Regions from separate parts of the Homo sapiens genome. Here regions 2, 3 and 4 are each linked to region 1. The links are contacts of gene promoters, found by promoter capture Hi-C in blood cells and fetal thymus (Javierre and others, 2016). All regions are on one chromosome and are shown on one strand. Each heading gives the region's core, a stretch centred on a gene start or on the middle of the fragment in contact. The rest is flanking DNA. Distances are from core to core; before and after follow the strand shown. Region 1 holds the start of IFNL2 (interferon lambda 2). Region 2 holds the start of DLL3 (delta like canonical Notch ligand 3). Region 3 holds the start of FBXO27 (F-box protein 27). Region 4 holds the start of RPS16 (ribosomal protein S16).

Region 1 (3,539 bases), core at 320-2,819:
CCCCAGACCCTTCATCTCCAAGACCCATGCTCTTCACCACTGCCTGAACTTCCCTAAGAAAGACGGCACCCACGTGGTGTCCTTCAAGTCCTTCGTCACACCTCAGTTCTTGAGCAGAGCCTCATATTCCTGAGTCCTTCCTTGCCTGGGCAATTAAGAAATATTGGCCTTGGCTGGGCTCAGAGGCTCATGCCTGTAATCCCAGCACTTTGGGAGGACGAGGAAGGTGGATCATGAGGTCAGGAGTTCAAGACTAGCCTGGCCAGCATGGTGAAACCCTGTCTCTACTAAAAATACAGAAATTAGCTGGGCATGGTGGCACATGCCTGTAATCCAAGCTACTCAAGAGGCTGAGGCAGGAGAATCACTTGAACCCAGGAGGCAGAGGTTGCAGTGAGCTGAGATGGTGCCTCTGCACTCCAGCCTGGGCAACAGAGCGAGACTCCATCTCTCTTGCTCACTCACTCTCTCTCATGCTCTCTCTCTCTCTCTCTCTCTCTCTCTCTCTCTATATATATATATATATATATATATACACACACATATATGCCTCTGGCCGGGCGCGGTGGCTCACGCCTATAATCCCAGAACTTTGGGAGGCCGAAGAAGGCAGATCACGAGGTCAGGAGTTCAAGACCAACCTGGCCAATATGGCAAAACCCCGTCTCTACTAAAAATACAAAAATTAGTTGGGCGTGGTGGTGCATGCCTATAGTCCTTTCTACTCGGGAGGCTGAAGCAGAAGAATCCCTTGAACCAAGGAGGTGGAGGTTGCAGTGAGTCGAGATCACGCTGCTGCACTCCAGCCTGGGCTACAGAGCAAGACTCCATCTCAAAAAAAAAAGAAAAAAGAAAGAAAGAAAGAAATCATGGCCTCTGGGCACAGTGGCTCATGCCTGCAACCCCAGCAATTTGGGAGGCCAAGACAGACAGATCACTTGACGTCAAGAGTTCGAGACCAGCCTGGCCAATTGGTGAACTGTCATCTCTACTAAAACCATAAAAATTAGCTGGGAATGGTGGCACAAATCTGTAATCTCAGCTACTTGGGAGGCTAAGGCAAGAGAATCGCTTGAACCCAGGAGGTGGAGGTTGCAGTTAGTCAAGATTTTGCACTGCACTCCAGCCTGGGTGACCGAACAAGACCCTGTCTCAAAATATATATATATATATATGCCAGGAGGGGTGGCTCAGGCCTGTAATCTCAGCACTTTAATAGGCTGGGTGAGGAGGATGGCTTGAGCCCAGGAGTTTGAGGCTGCAGTGAGCTGTGATCATGCCATTGCACTCCAGTGACAGAGTGAGACCCTGTCTTAAACAACAACAAAACCAGAGCAGGTGGAATCCTCCTGGGAACATACCTTCCTGTAGGTTACCCCTGAGTCTCCATCAGTTTCTCTTTCCCTCCAGCTGCTCATCTGGCTCACTAGCCCTGCCCTGCTCTGGGCTTTCCCAGCCTGGGGCTCCCCTGGTGGCCGGTGTCTTACCTGAGGCTGTGTTTTCACTTTTCCTACATCAGCTGGGACTGCCCTTCTGTCAGGGATAAAAGCTGCCCCATGGAGCTCAGGCAGGAATTACATCCCAGACAGAGCTCAAAACTGACAGAAAGAGTCAAAGCCAGGACACAGTCTGAGATCCAGAAGAGGGGACTGAAAAGAACAGAGACTCCAGACAAGACCCAAACAGACCCTGGGTGACAGCCTCAGAGTGTTTCTTCTGCTGACAAAGACCAGAGATCAGGAATGAAACTAGGTGAGTCCCACATCTCTGTCCGTGCTCAGCTCCTGCAGCCCCTGCCCTCAGTGGGCAGCCTCTCCATCCCCTCAGCTCCCTTTCTCTCTGTGACACAGACATGACTGGGGACTGCACGCCAGTGCTGGTGCTGATGGCCGCAGTGCTGACCGTGACTGGAGCAGTTCCTGTCGCCAGGCTCCACGGGGCTCTCCCGGATGCAAGGGGCTGCCACATAGCCCAGTTCAAGTCCCTGTCTCCACAGGAGCTGCAGGCCTTTAAGAGGGCCAAAGATGCCTTAGTGAGTCTCCCCCTGCCCTCCTGCCATGGACTAGCCTCCACCCCCACTCCAAGCGTCACCATGCTTTCCCACTCCCAGCTTCCTTCACTGGGCTAGCCTCCACCCTCCCTGCAGTGGGCTATCTCATGCTCCTACTGTAGGGACTGACTCATGTTTTCCTGTAGAAGAGGGTCCTCTACCATCCTCCCAGCAGTTAACCTCCCCTATCCTGTTGTCAGCCATCCTCCAATCCCACCAGGATGGTCTAACCTCCACCCCTCCTGCTGGGGCTAACCTGTGCCTTTGCTGTCTAGGAAGAGTCGCTTCTGCTGAAGGACTGCAGGTGCCACTCCCGCCTCTTCCCCAGGACCTGGGACCTGAGGCAGCTGCAGGTGAGAGGGGGAGTCAGGCCCACCCCTGCTCTCCCAGCCCCACTCACCTGGCTCTGTAGTGGCCCCTTCACCGTCTCTTTCTCCCTTGTCTCTCTCTCTTCTCCTCACACCTGCTCTCCCTTCCCTCCGCTCCCACCTGACCACACTGGCTGTGCCCTCTCCCCTGTGCCTGTCACCTTCACTTGTTCCTCTCTATCCTGCTCCCCAACCTGTTCCCCTCACCTCCCCCCTCACCTGCTCTTTCTCACCTCTCCTCAGGTGAGGGAGCGCCCCATGGCTTTGGAGGCTGAGCTGGCCCTGACGCTGAAGGTTCTGGAGGCCACCGCTGACACTGACCCAGCCCTGGTGGACGTCTTGGACCAGCCCCTTCACACCCTGCACCATATCCTCTCCCAGTTCCGGGCCTGTGTGAGTCGTTGGGGCCTGGGCACCCAGGTCTGTGAGCTCTGAGCAGCGTCCTTCCCCTTGCCAAGGCCCCGGCTCACACACCGCCCTCCTCTGCCCACAGATCCAGCCTCAGCCCACGGCAGGGCCCAGGACCCGGGGCCGCCTCCACCATTGGCTGTACCGGCTCCAGGAGGCCCCAAAAAAGGTGAGTGACCCGGGAAGAGAGGGACTGAGGTCTGGGGAGCCACTGGGAGCCCAGAACCCAGACAGCCCCTGACCCATCCCCTCCTCCCTACAGGAGTCCCCTGGCTGCCTCGAGGCCTCTGTCACCTTCAACCTCTTCCGCCTCCTCACGCGAGACCTGAATTGTGTTGCCAGTGGGGACCTGTGTGTCTGACCCTCCCACCAGTCATGCAACCTGAGATTTTATTTATAAATTAGCCACTTGTCTTAATTTATTGCCACCCAGTCGCTATTTATGTATTTGTGTGTGTAAATCCAACTCACCTCCAGGAAAATGTTTATTTTTCTACTTTTTATAACCCTTGTTGAAATAAACAAAGGAAAAGACACTCATGACGTTGGACTGTGTGTCTGTTGGTGTGTATTTCCTTTGTGTTGCTGCCATAACAACGCTAAAAGTAGCATCTTCCAAAGACACACTTGATGAGCTGGGAGTCTGCAGGTCAGAGGCTCGCTGGCCCTGGCTGGTTTCTCTCCTGTGGGACTCACAGGCTAGAATCCAAGCA
Region 2 (3,539 bases), core at 470-2,969, 230 kb after region 1:
CTGGTCTTCTTTCATTCATTAAAAAATTAACTGCGCAGGGATTAGTGGCTCATGCTTGTAATCCCAGCAATTTGGGAAGCCGAGGTGGGTGGACCACTTGAAGGTCAGGAGTTCGAGACCAGCCTGGCCAACATGGTGAAACCCCGTCTCTACTAAAAATATAAAAAATTAGCCGAGTGTGTTGGTGGGTGCCTGTAATCCCAGCTACTCTGGAGGCTGAGGCAGCAGAATCGCTTGAACCCGGGAGGTGGAGGTTGCAGTGAGCCAAGATCGCACCACTGCACTCCAGCCTGGGCAACAAGAGCAAAACTTCTTCTTCTGAAAAAAACAACAACAGCAACAACAAAAAACAGAGCGCCTACTGTATGCCTGGCTCTGCTGGGCTAGGCTTCGTTGGTTACTATATCTTACTTCTCTGGAAAAAGACATATAAATTGAACCTGTATTTTCCCCTATAATTATTAGCCTCTAAGCACTAAAGTTTTTTACTTTGGGGGGGAAAAAAAAGAAGTTACCCCAGCTCAAGGGTTTTGCCCCATGCCTGGCAGGGAGCAATTATGACCAGAGGGGCTGGGACATCTGCTCCTAATTGGCTTTTCCTGCTGAGGTCCTGGAATACTAAAGGGTTTCTGAAGGGCCCGGGATGTCCCCCCCCCCAGTTCTTCTGGGGTGGGGGAGCGGGTCCCTGTATGTGAAGACGGAATTTCCTGCCCATTTGCTCCTCACACCTTCCGGAGGCCAAACGGGCAGCCCAGCTGCGGCCCGAAGGGGGAGGGGCTCGGCCGCCCGGCAGATGGCGGCATTTACATACAGCTGGGAGCCCCCTCTTGAGGCCGAGCTCCTCGCCCTGGCGTCTGGTGCGTCCGCGATGCGGGGTTTGGGAGGGTGGCTTTGTCTTGCGGAGGGGGAACACACACACGCCTGCACACAGGGGTCCACAAAGAGCCCTGGATCTTCATCGTATCCACACACAGCTACACCCGTGGATCTCCCAAACCCAGTCTCATTCACACAAACCAGCGCACACAGGGGTCTACAAAGAACTCCGGATCTTCATCGTATTCACACGCGGCTGCATCCGTGGACCTCTCAAACCCAGTCTCATTCACACACAGGCGCCCTCAGCCATTCACCACCTTGCACAGCCTCTACCACACCCGCACAGAGCACAAAGTCACAGGTTTATACGCCTATACAGGATCTCCCATAAACACACACGCACAGAGAAGCAGCCACACAGCCACACAATCTCAAAGCGTCACACAATCACGAAGTCGTGTACACTTCTAGTGTCCCACTCGGGTGTGCGTGCAGAATCAGAATTGTTTACAACCTCATAAATGTGTCAATCACACACAACTCCAGGCGTATGCTGAGCCGCACAGTCCCACGTGGACTCACAATGACAAAGTCATGTGCACCCTCCGGTAGCTCTGGTTCATACCACACACACAAAATCTTAAAATCATGTACAACCTCACACACAGGCTTAGCCCCCTAACCCCACCCCACCCTAGCCACACAAAAAGTCGCGGGATCACCCACGCATGACCTCGCTCGTGCCCACGACCACAGACGGAATCTCGCTGTTGCTCCTGCACGCTCCCCCTCCCCTGTGACCGCCCCCCCCGCCCCGCCCTTGGTCCCTTGGGGCCGGGTAGCTGCCTGAAGGGGCGGGGCCATTCTCTCAGATATAAGGCTTGGAAGCCAGCAGCTGCGACTCCCGAGACCCCCCCACCAGAAGGCCATGGTCTCCCCACGGATGTCCGGGCTCCTCTCCCAGACTGTGATCCTAGCGCTCATTTTCCTCCCCCAGGTCAGAGCCAGGTGGGAGGTGGCGTGGAAAGGGATGAATGCGGAGGGGAGGGGTGAGTGCGACCTGAAGGTCCTGGGGAAGGAGCGTGGGGCGGACGGGAAGCCTGGGTCCTCCCGGCCGCCTCACCCTGCGCCCGTCTCCGTCCCAGACACGGCCCGCTGGCGTCTTCGAGCTGCAGATCCACTCTTTCGGGCCGGGTCCAGGCCCTGGGGCCCCGCGGTCCCCCTGCAGCGCCCGGCTCCCCTGCCGCCTCTTCTTCAGAGTCTGCCTGAAGCCTGGGCTCTCAGAGGAGGCCGCCGAGTCCCCGTGCGCCCTGGGCGCGGCGCTGAGTGCGCGCGGACCGGTCTACACCGAGCAGCCCGGAGCGCCCGCGCCTGATCTCCCACTGCCCGACGGCCTCTTGCAGGTGCCCTTCCGGGACGCCTGGCCTGTAAGTGCTGCCCCCGGGGGACTCCCGGTGCTGGAGGCCTAACCCTGCCAGCGAAACCTCCACCTCCTCTCCCCTCCAGCTTCCAAGACCCTAATCCTGCCTCCCAGGGGGTGGACGAAATTCCCAGACCAGTAACTCTACCGTCTGGAACCCCACATTCACAGACCTCTAAACTCTACACACTGGGGATTCTAAATGTTCTGATTCCCCAACCCTGGATGCTGGGACCCCAAATTCCCAGAATTTCAAACCCAAGCTCTGAAATCCTAAACTCAAGGAACCCTACCTCTGCTCCTTGGGGATCCCTAAAAACTGTGGTCCTCATCTTTATCCCCAAACCTCTCACACCTTGTCTTGGGGACCACTAATATCTTCTCTCTCTTTTTTTTTTTTTTTCTGTCCTCAGTTCTTTCAGTTGGGTCCTGTATTAATTACTCTTTCACCTCCAAAATCCTGTCTCCCACCCCCACAACCCAAAGGCACAAAGATGAACAGACCTGTATTGCAATGCTTGACCCTTGTCCTTTTGGACAAGTGACTGCCTGGTTTCCAGCCTCAGTTTCCTAAGCTTAAAAATGGGATCATCCTGGTACCTCACAAGGGTCCCTTTTGAGCGATTCAACCACATCTCTTGAATAAAGTGCTTACCACGTAGTAAGTGCTCAATAAAGCAAGCCACGTCCAGTCGCTCACACTGTAATTCCAGCACTTTGGGAGGTCTAGGCAGGAGGATCTCCTGAGCCCGGCAGTTTGAGACCAGTCTCAGTAACATAGTGAGACCTCGTTTCTAAAAAAAAAAAAAAAACATAGCAGGGCATGGTGACATGCGCGTGTAGTCCCAGCTACTGGGGAGGCTGAGGTGGGAGGATTGCTTGAGCCTCGGAGGTTGTTGCAGTGAGCCAAGATTGCGCCAGTGCACTCCAGCCTGGTTGACAAAGTGAGATTCTCCCCCCCCCCCCAAAAAAAAGCCACAGATGTCATTCCCTCCCTGGGCTGGTCTGGTCCCTCTGGGAATTGTCCCTTGCTTGCTCAGTCCCCAGCAATGGCCATCACCCTCCATTCCTGAACTCTGGCCTTCATTGAGTACTTACCCTAACCACTGTCTTTCATCTTTCATCTCCCCCTTCCTTCACCCAACCAGGGCACCTTCTCTTTCATCATCGAAACCTGGAGAGAGGAGTTAGGAGACCAGATTGGAGGTGAGTGTCTTCAGTCTTGGGACTGGTGGGGAGCTGGGGCCCACGTGAGACACGGGGTTGGTGGTGTTATCTATAGGTCTTATGATGTCATCAC
Region 3 (3,539 bases), core at 641-3,140, 240 kb before region 1:
TCCAGGCTGGAGTGTAGTGGTACAACCTCCACCTCCTGGGTTCAAGTGATTCTCCTGCCTCAGCCTCCCAAGTATGTGGGACTACAGGTGTGCACTACCAGGCCCGGCTAATTTTTTTTTTGTATTTTTAGTAGAGACGAGGTTTTGCCATGCTGGTTGGGCTGGTCTCGAACTCCTGACCTCAAGTGATCTGCCTGCCTCGACCCCCCAAAGTGCTGGGATTATAGGTGTGAGCCACCATGGCTGGCCTGAACTTCAGATTTTTTATCTGTAAGGAGGGGTTAGGAGGCCTAAATTAAGTCACCCATAAAAAGGCCATGTCACATGCAGTCAGTGCTTAGCAAGGGGCTATTTTAATCGTCACACTCACCAGTCAGAGACACAAATCTCAATCCTGCCACTATCCAGCAGTTCTGGCCACAGACCCTCCTCCTCTAGGTCCAAGACCTGCTTCTTGCAACACCAGCTGGGAATGCAGGAGACAGGGTAATGAGAACAGGCAGGCCTTTCTCAACAAGGGGCCGGACCTTTGGATAGCAGGGGCATTCACCTGAATGAAGTCACGAAGCACGTCTGAGAAGGGGCCCCAGGCACGGTTGTCCTGTTTTCCTCCACCACCCAGCCGTCCCCACCGTGTTGCACCATCCACTTTCGGAGGCCTTCTGTGAAATAAAAAAGGCTTGTGCCCAAGTTCCAGTCGCCCGCCTGTTGGTTCCTAGTGAGACCCCGCCCCTAGCCCCTCCCACGTGCTCACAGTGCAGCTCACTCACCTGACCCTTCCCACCGAGGCCCCGCCCCCTTCCCCTCCCACCAGCTCAGGGCAAAGCCCCGCTCCTCTGGCCCTTCTCACTGATTTGCAGCAAAGCCCTGCCCCTCCAACCCCTCTCTCGGGCTCCCAGAACTGCCCCACTCCCACCCCTCCCACAGGCAAACGGTGAAGCCCTGCCCAGTCAGCCCTGCACCCTGCGTGCCAATGCTGCCTCGTCCCTCCGACACCTCCCACCGGCTCCCAATGCTGCCCCGCCCCTCCGGCACCTCACACCGGCTCCCAATGCTGCCCCGCCTCTCCGACTCCTCCCACCGGTCCCACTGCGGCCCTGCCCCTGCGGCCCCTAGTACCGGTCCCAGTGCGGCCCCGCCCCTCCGGCCCCGCTACCGCTCCCACTGTGGCCCAGCATCCTGGACTTCCTCTTCCGAGATCCCACCTTGGCCGCAGGGGTTGCGAATAAGGTTGCGTCCGATGGGTCTGCGCGCGCAGAAGCGGCCCAGGGGGCAAGGCCTGGCGTTACGGGCGGGAGACTGGCAGCTGCGGGCGAGGTGCAGCAGCGCGCGGCCGGTGGCGCCGTGGTCGCGGGCCAGGATCAGCAGCCACAGGGCCTGGCCGTCCACCAGGGCTCGCCAGCCCCGGCACACTTGGCGGCAGCGCCCGAGCAGCGTGCGCGGGGGGACGTGGCTCAGCACCACCAGAAGCAGCTCTGGGGGTAGTTGGCTCAGGTCCAGCGCCTCTTCGGGTTCCGGCTCCGGCGCGGGGACCCGGGCGGCCCGGCCCCTGGAGACCGAGGCGCCCATGGTCCCCCCGCCAGGCCCGGCTGTGGCTGCGGGAGAGGAAGGGTCAAGGCGTCAGGGACCAGCAGCCTCCGCGGCGCGCAGCCTCTGCCTGCCCTGATTCTGCCAGCCGCACCCCCGTCTTCACCATCCCTGGGCCCCGTCCCCAAGTCCCCATCCCCCAGCCCGTCCTTGATAGCCCCGATATCCCGGAGACCCCGCGGTCTGTGTGTATGCCCCGAATTGCATGCAATCAGCCCCCCTCGGCGGCCGCACCGACACCGCACCCCAAGTCCTACCCCGGGGCCTGGCGGCGCTCCTCGCCGGGATGCCCTAGCTGTGCCGCAAGCTCCCCACGCCCCTCTGCGTCCTTTTTACTCGCCGGCCCCTCCCCTCTTACTAGCCAGCTTCACCCACCCCTGCATCCTCTTTCTTACTCGCCAGCCCCTCCCGCCTGCTCCCTCCCGCTCTCCAAACCCAACCTGCTTCCCGCGACGGGGCCAGGTGCAGCCAGGAGCCAAGGCCTGCTGCTCACAGCCGTCCCCTCCAGCCGGCCCCTTGAAGTGTCCCTAATTCGTTAGTAGCAATGAGACGTCTGGCTCTGAGCAACCATTGTTATTTTGGTCAGGCTTCTGAGTGGGAGGCCTCGTATCCGTTAACGTGTTAAAAAATTTCCATCACCTTTAAGGTCGGGCGTGGTTATCTTCATTTCACAGGAGAAAACAGGCTCCGGCTGCTAAAAATTAATGCAACCAATAGTAACACCAGCCAACTTTTATGGACGGTTTTACTGCCAGCCAGGGTGGCAACCCCATGAAGTAGGTGCTGTTATGCCCTTTACTTCACAGGTGAAAAAACTGAGACCAGCAGAGGCCAAGTGGCTTGTCTATGATCACCAGCTAGTAGGGATTTGAATCCAGCCAGCCTAGCTCCGGAATTCCTCATTTTAACCTCTAGATCAGCTCTGTCCAATAAAAATACAATTGTGGCTGGGTGCGGTGACTCATGCCCGTAATCCCAGCACTTTGGGAGGCCAAGGCAGGCGGATCGCTTGAGGTCAGAAGTTCGAGACCAGCCTGGCCAACATGGTGAAACCCCGTCTCTACTAAAAATACAAAAATTAGCTGGGCGTGGTAGCACGCGCCTGTAATCCCAGCTAATTTGGAGGCTTAGGCAGGAGAATTGCTTGAATCCGGGAGGGGGAGGTTGCAGTGAGCAGAGATTGCACCACTGCACTCCAGCCTGTGCAAAAGAGTGAGTGAGACTCCGTCTCAAAAAACAAACAGAAAAAAAAAATTGTGAAAGTTGATCATGTGAATTGGATCCTTCTTGTCATATCCAACTAAAACAAAGTTGAGAGGCCGGGGGGAAAACACTTAGGGCAGATACCATTGCTCCAAGAAAGTGATTCTCTGCAAGCCTGGCTGTTAAAACTGCCTGTTGTAACCTGGAAGCAGTCTAACTGGTACTGAAAAAACCTGCCGTGACTCTAAGACTAGTTTTTCCCTCTGCTGTCACTTACCAGTCAGAACTTGCCAGCTCCCCAGAACGTTGCTAGTGTCAATGAACTTTCTTGCAAAACAATACCTAACATTTCTGTTTCTTATAAAAACCTCTAACCTCTTTGTTCTTTGAAAGTTCTGAAGACCGCCTGGTCTGTGTGGATGCCTCGAATGTCAATTCTTGCTTCCCAAATAAAACATTTTATTATTTTTTTGAGACAGAGTCTCGCTCTGTCGCCCAGGCTGGAGGGCAGTGATGCAATCTCGTCTCACTGCAACCTCCGCCTCATGGGTTCAAGCGATTCTCCTGCCTCAGCCTCCCGAGTAGCTGGGATTACAGGCGCATGCCACCATGCCCAGCTAATTTTTGTATTTTTAGTAGAGACGGGGTTTCACCATGTTGGCCAGGATGGTCTCAAACTCCCGACCTCAGGTGATCTGCCCGCCTCAGCCTCCCAAAGTGCTGGGATCGCAGGCATGAGCCACCGCAAC
Region 4 (3,539 bases), core at 292-2,791, 170 kb after region 1:
AGACCTTAAGTCATCTGGATCACTGCTATGTCCCCAAAACTCAACAGAGGGTACACATACAAATCCTTCAAATACAGTGACAGCCAATAACAGTAACATTCAACATCTGCTACACAAAGGAAATCTCAGAATTTTTATTAAATTCTAGGCCAGGCATGGTGATCACACCTGTAATCCCAGTCCAGGCAGAAGGATCACATGAGACCAAGGACCAGCCTGGGCAATAAAGTGAGACCCCACGTCTACAGAAAAATATTTCTCAAATGAGCCAGGCGTGGTGATGTGCCTGTAGTCTTGGCAACCGAAAGGCTGAGGTGGGAGGATCTCCAACTCAGGAGTTTAAGGCTGCAGTTCATTAGGATTGTGCTATTGCACTCCAGGGTAGGTGACAGCAAGATACTGTTTTTAAAAAAGAACCTTATAACTCAAAAAAAATTTTTTTAACTGACCCTGCAATGTAGATATTCTTTCTTTTAAAAGTAGTAGAGTTCAGAAGGGGCAGAAATCAGACTCTGGTTTCTTTCCATTCTGAGCCAAAGAAATTGAGAGTCCCAAAAAGGGAACAGAGGAACCCCTTTTACAAGCAAGCATTTAAACAGACCCAAATTCGGCCGCACACGGTGGCTGACGCCTGCAATCCCAGCACTTCGGGAGGCCGAGGCTGGTGGATCACCTGAGGTAATGAGTTCGAGACCACTCTGGCCAATATGGCGAAACCCCGTCTCTACTAAAAATACAAAAATTAGCCGGGCGTGGTGGTGCATGCCTGTAATCTCAGCTACTCAAGAGGCTGAGGCAGGAGAATCGCTTTAACCCGGGAGGCGAAGGTTGCAGTGATCCGAGATCGCGCCACTACACTCCAGCCTGGGCGACACAGCGAGACTCCCTCTCAAAACAAATAAATAAAATAAAAAATAGTCGGTGTCCCTTCACCCTTTGGGTCCCCCCGCCCCAGTGAGGTGAGCTTCCTAACATCCCAGTTCTCAAAGCAAACCCTTAATCTTCAACAACCCCATCTCAGCTTTTACATCTTCTGAACCCCAAGCCCAGCTCTATTGCCAAATACCCCACTGTTCTACACCCAACACAACTTCTAAACATCCCGTTGCTGATGCCAGCCCCCCCAGCTTTCAAGAGCTACAACATCTCTGTCTCCAAGAGTCCTCCATCCACTCAACGCCGGTGCCGGATCCCAGCACCTTGTACTGTAGCGTGCGCGGCTCAATCATCTCCAGGGGCCGCCCGTTCACCTTGATGAGACCATTGCCGCGTTTGCAGTGCGCCACAGCTGTCGCTGTCTTCTGTAAGATACAAGAGAAACAGGGGCCCCGTGAGCTCCGGCTCCAGCTCCCATGTTACCCCCTAGATTCCTGCCCACCGACCTCTCCCAGACCCTGGCCTTCTCCTTCCCCTCCCCTTCCCATCCGGCGTCTGGCTCACCTTGCGTCCGAAGACCTGCACAGACTGCAGCGGGCCCTTGGACGGCATGGCTCCGAGCGTGGACTAGACAACCTCACCGCGCGGCGCCGCAACCGGAAAAGGAAAGCTAGGGGCCACCCTGGCCGCTTTTCAGGGTCTGCGCAGGCGCCTTGAGCACTGCGTCGCGACGGGAGAGAGCTTTACGGCTTCTGTTGCGGCTAACGGGCGGGGCGTCTGGTCAGCGGCGGGAAGGCCCTTAGGCGCTCAGAGCGGGCGGGCCCTGTGAGGCGGAAGTGGCGGGCTCTGTGGGCGGAAGGGGCGGGGCCTGGGAGTGTCGTGTGCGGACTGAAGGGAAGGCTGCGGGAGTGTGCTTCGCGTCCTCTGTAGTCGACTACCGCAGCTCTTCTTTGCATTCTGGCTCTTTAATAATCTCCCTTCGCCCTTTCTTTAAATCAGTTCCCACCCTCCCAACACCTGTAATCTTTCTCCCCTCTGGACTCCCTCCTCCCCGAATCCCCCGCATCAGAATCTTCCTTTGGAATCTACTGCAAGAAATCTGGCTGGATTCTCAGATTAAGGACTTCCAGAATCCTATCCTCCCTAGAATCCCCCTCCTTGGGGATCCTCTCCCAGAATCCTTTTCCCCTCAGAGCCCCTTCCCCTCAGAATCTCCCTTTCACCAGAATGTCCTTCCTTTCAGTTTCCTCTTCCCAGAATGTTTCCCATCCTTCTCTCAGATGGCCAACCCCAAATGTCCCTCTTAAGAGTGCTCAACTTAGACCCCCCTTTTCCCTGAATCTCCCTCCATTCGGTCCTCGTCCCCTCAGTCACCCTTCCCAGAATCTTTCTCTTGTCAGGACCCAGTACCCCTGGAATCTCCCTCCTCCAGAATCTCCCTTTCCCGGCAAATCCCCCTTTCCCGGCAAATCCCCCTTTCCCAGAACACCCCGCCCCGCAAATCCACAAAAACTTTTCTCTCAGAGACCCGTCCCTCAAAATCTACCTTTCTCCTGAGTTTATTTCCCTTCCGAGACTCCTCTTCCCAGCAACTGCCTTCCCTGGAGTTTTCCCTCCGTTAGAATCCCCCTCTCCTAAGAGACCCTCCCCCAAGAATTAACCTCTTCCCCGTCCCCACCCTAGAATCTCTCTCTTTTTTTTGAGACGGAGTTTCGCTCGTTGCCCTGGCTAGAGTGCAGTGGTGCGATCTCGTCTCACTGCAACCTCCGCCTCCCGGGTTCAAGAGATTCTCCTGCCTTAGGCTCCCGAGTAGCTGGAATTACAGGCGTCTACCACCACGCCCTGGTCGTTTTTTGTATTTTTAGTAGAAATGGGGTTTCACCACGTTGGCCAGGCTGGTCTCGAACTCCTGACCTCAGGTGATGTGATCCGCCTCAGCCTCCCAGAGTCCTGGGATTACAGGCGTGAGCCACCACGCCCGGCCGAATCTCTCTGTTTTTTGTTTTTTTTTTTTCTTTTTTTTGAGACAGAGTCCTGCTCTGTCGCCCAGGCTGGAGTGCAGTGGCATGATCTCTGCTCACTGCAACCTCTGCCTCCCCGGTTAAAGCGATTCTCCTGCCTCAGCCTCTTGAGTAGCTGAGATTACAGGCATGCACCACCACGCCCGGCTAATTTTTGTATTTGTAGTAGAGACGGGGTTTCACCATATTGGCCAGACTGGTCTCGAACTCCTGACATCAAATGATCCACTCATCTCAGCCTCCCAAAGTGCTGGGATTACAGGCGTGAGCCACCGCGCCCAGCCCCTAGAATCTCTTTCTCCAGAATCTCCCAGTCATCTTTTTCCTCTCCCCCAAATCACCCTCCACTTAAGCCTCCTCCCCACAGAATTCTCCATCCCCAGCCCCCCAACCCCACCTGAGGAACCCCAGGATTGGGTTGTCCTCTGGTTCCCCGGCAGATGTCCCTGCGTCTCACCCCATCAAGAGTCTCCCCAGCGAAGAGGTTCCTCTCTCAGAGCTAGAGGGAGCCCACAGTTGCCTCAGTTTCTCTGGCAGTACAGGGTCTGGGATCCAGGGTTCAAAAGGGCGTCGTGGTGCACCTTGCCAAAGAGGGTGGAGACAGGGAGACACTGGAGGGCAGGTCTGGGGCCAGAGGGAAAA

The links. The method cuts DNA at HindIII sites, captures the fragments that hold promoters and counts their contacts. A CHiCAGO score of 5 or more calls a contact.
Region 2: the fragment with the promoter of DLL3 here is called in contact with the fragment with the promoter of IFNL2 in region 1 in 6 of 17 cell types (neutrophils, total B cells, monocytes and 3 more); the score reaches 20.4 in neutrophils.
Region 3: the fragment with the promoter of FBXO27 here is called in contact with the fragment with the promoter of IFNL2 in region 1 in 14 of 17 cell types (total B cells, total CD4 T cells, activated CD4 T cells and 11 more); the score reaches 8.3 in total B cells.
Region 4: a contact is called between the fragment with the promoter of RPS16 here and the fragment with the promoter of IFNL2 in region 1, in 4 of 17 cell types (neutrophils, total B cells, erythroblasts and 1 more). The highest score is 21.7, in neutrophils.

What each region holds. Positions count from the first base shown.
Region 1 is chr19:39,266,827-39,270,365 of GRCh38, forward strand. It overlaps IFNL2 (interferon lambda 2), which reads left to right and starts at 1,570. Exons shown (of 6, transcript NM_172138.2): 1 at 1,570-1,752; 2 at 1,851-2,032; 3 at 2,326-2,403; 4 at 2,662-2,811; 5 at 2,912-2,995; 6 at 3,089-3,362. The coding sequence starts at 1,743. The coding sequence ends at 3,187. The HindIII fragment of the contact is 23,103 bases long and covers 1-3,539 here.
Region 2 is chr19:39,497,228-39,500,766 of GRCh38, forward strand. It overlaps DLL3 (delta like canonical Notch ligand 3), which reads left to right and starts at 1,720. Exons shown (of 9, transcript NM_203486.3): 1 at 1,720-1,816; 2 at 1,965-2,246; 3 at 3,388-3,445. The coding sequence starts at 1,748. RefSeq lists an enhancer at 424-1,416 and a silencer at 1,040-1,099. The HindIII fragment of the contact is 3,955 bases long and covers 1-2,812 here.
Region 3 is chr19:39,030,659-39,034,197 of GRCh38, forward strand. FBXO27 (F-box protein 27) reads right to left here and starts at 1,891. Exons shown (of 6, transcript NM_178820.5): 1 at 1,845-1,891; 2 at 1,206-1,595; 3 at 551-662; 4 at 371-466. The coding sequence starts at 1,569. RefSeq lists enhancers at 470-579, 986-1,778 and silencers at 688-870, 720-959, 1,110-1,189, 1,390-1,539, 1,600-1,669. The HindIII fragment of the contact is 11,668 bases long and covers 1-3,539 here.
Region 4 is chr19:39,434,408-39,437,946 of GRCh38, forward strand. RPS16 (ribosomal protein S16) reads right to left here and starts at 1,542. Exons shown (of 5, transcript NM_001020.6): 1 at 1,441-1,542; 2 at 1,200-1,301. The coding sequence starts at 1,488. RefSeq lists enhancers at 736-1,315, 2,979-3,539 and a silencer at 1,696-1,795. The HindIII fragment of the contact is 27,347 bases long and covers 1-3,539 here.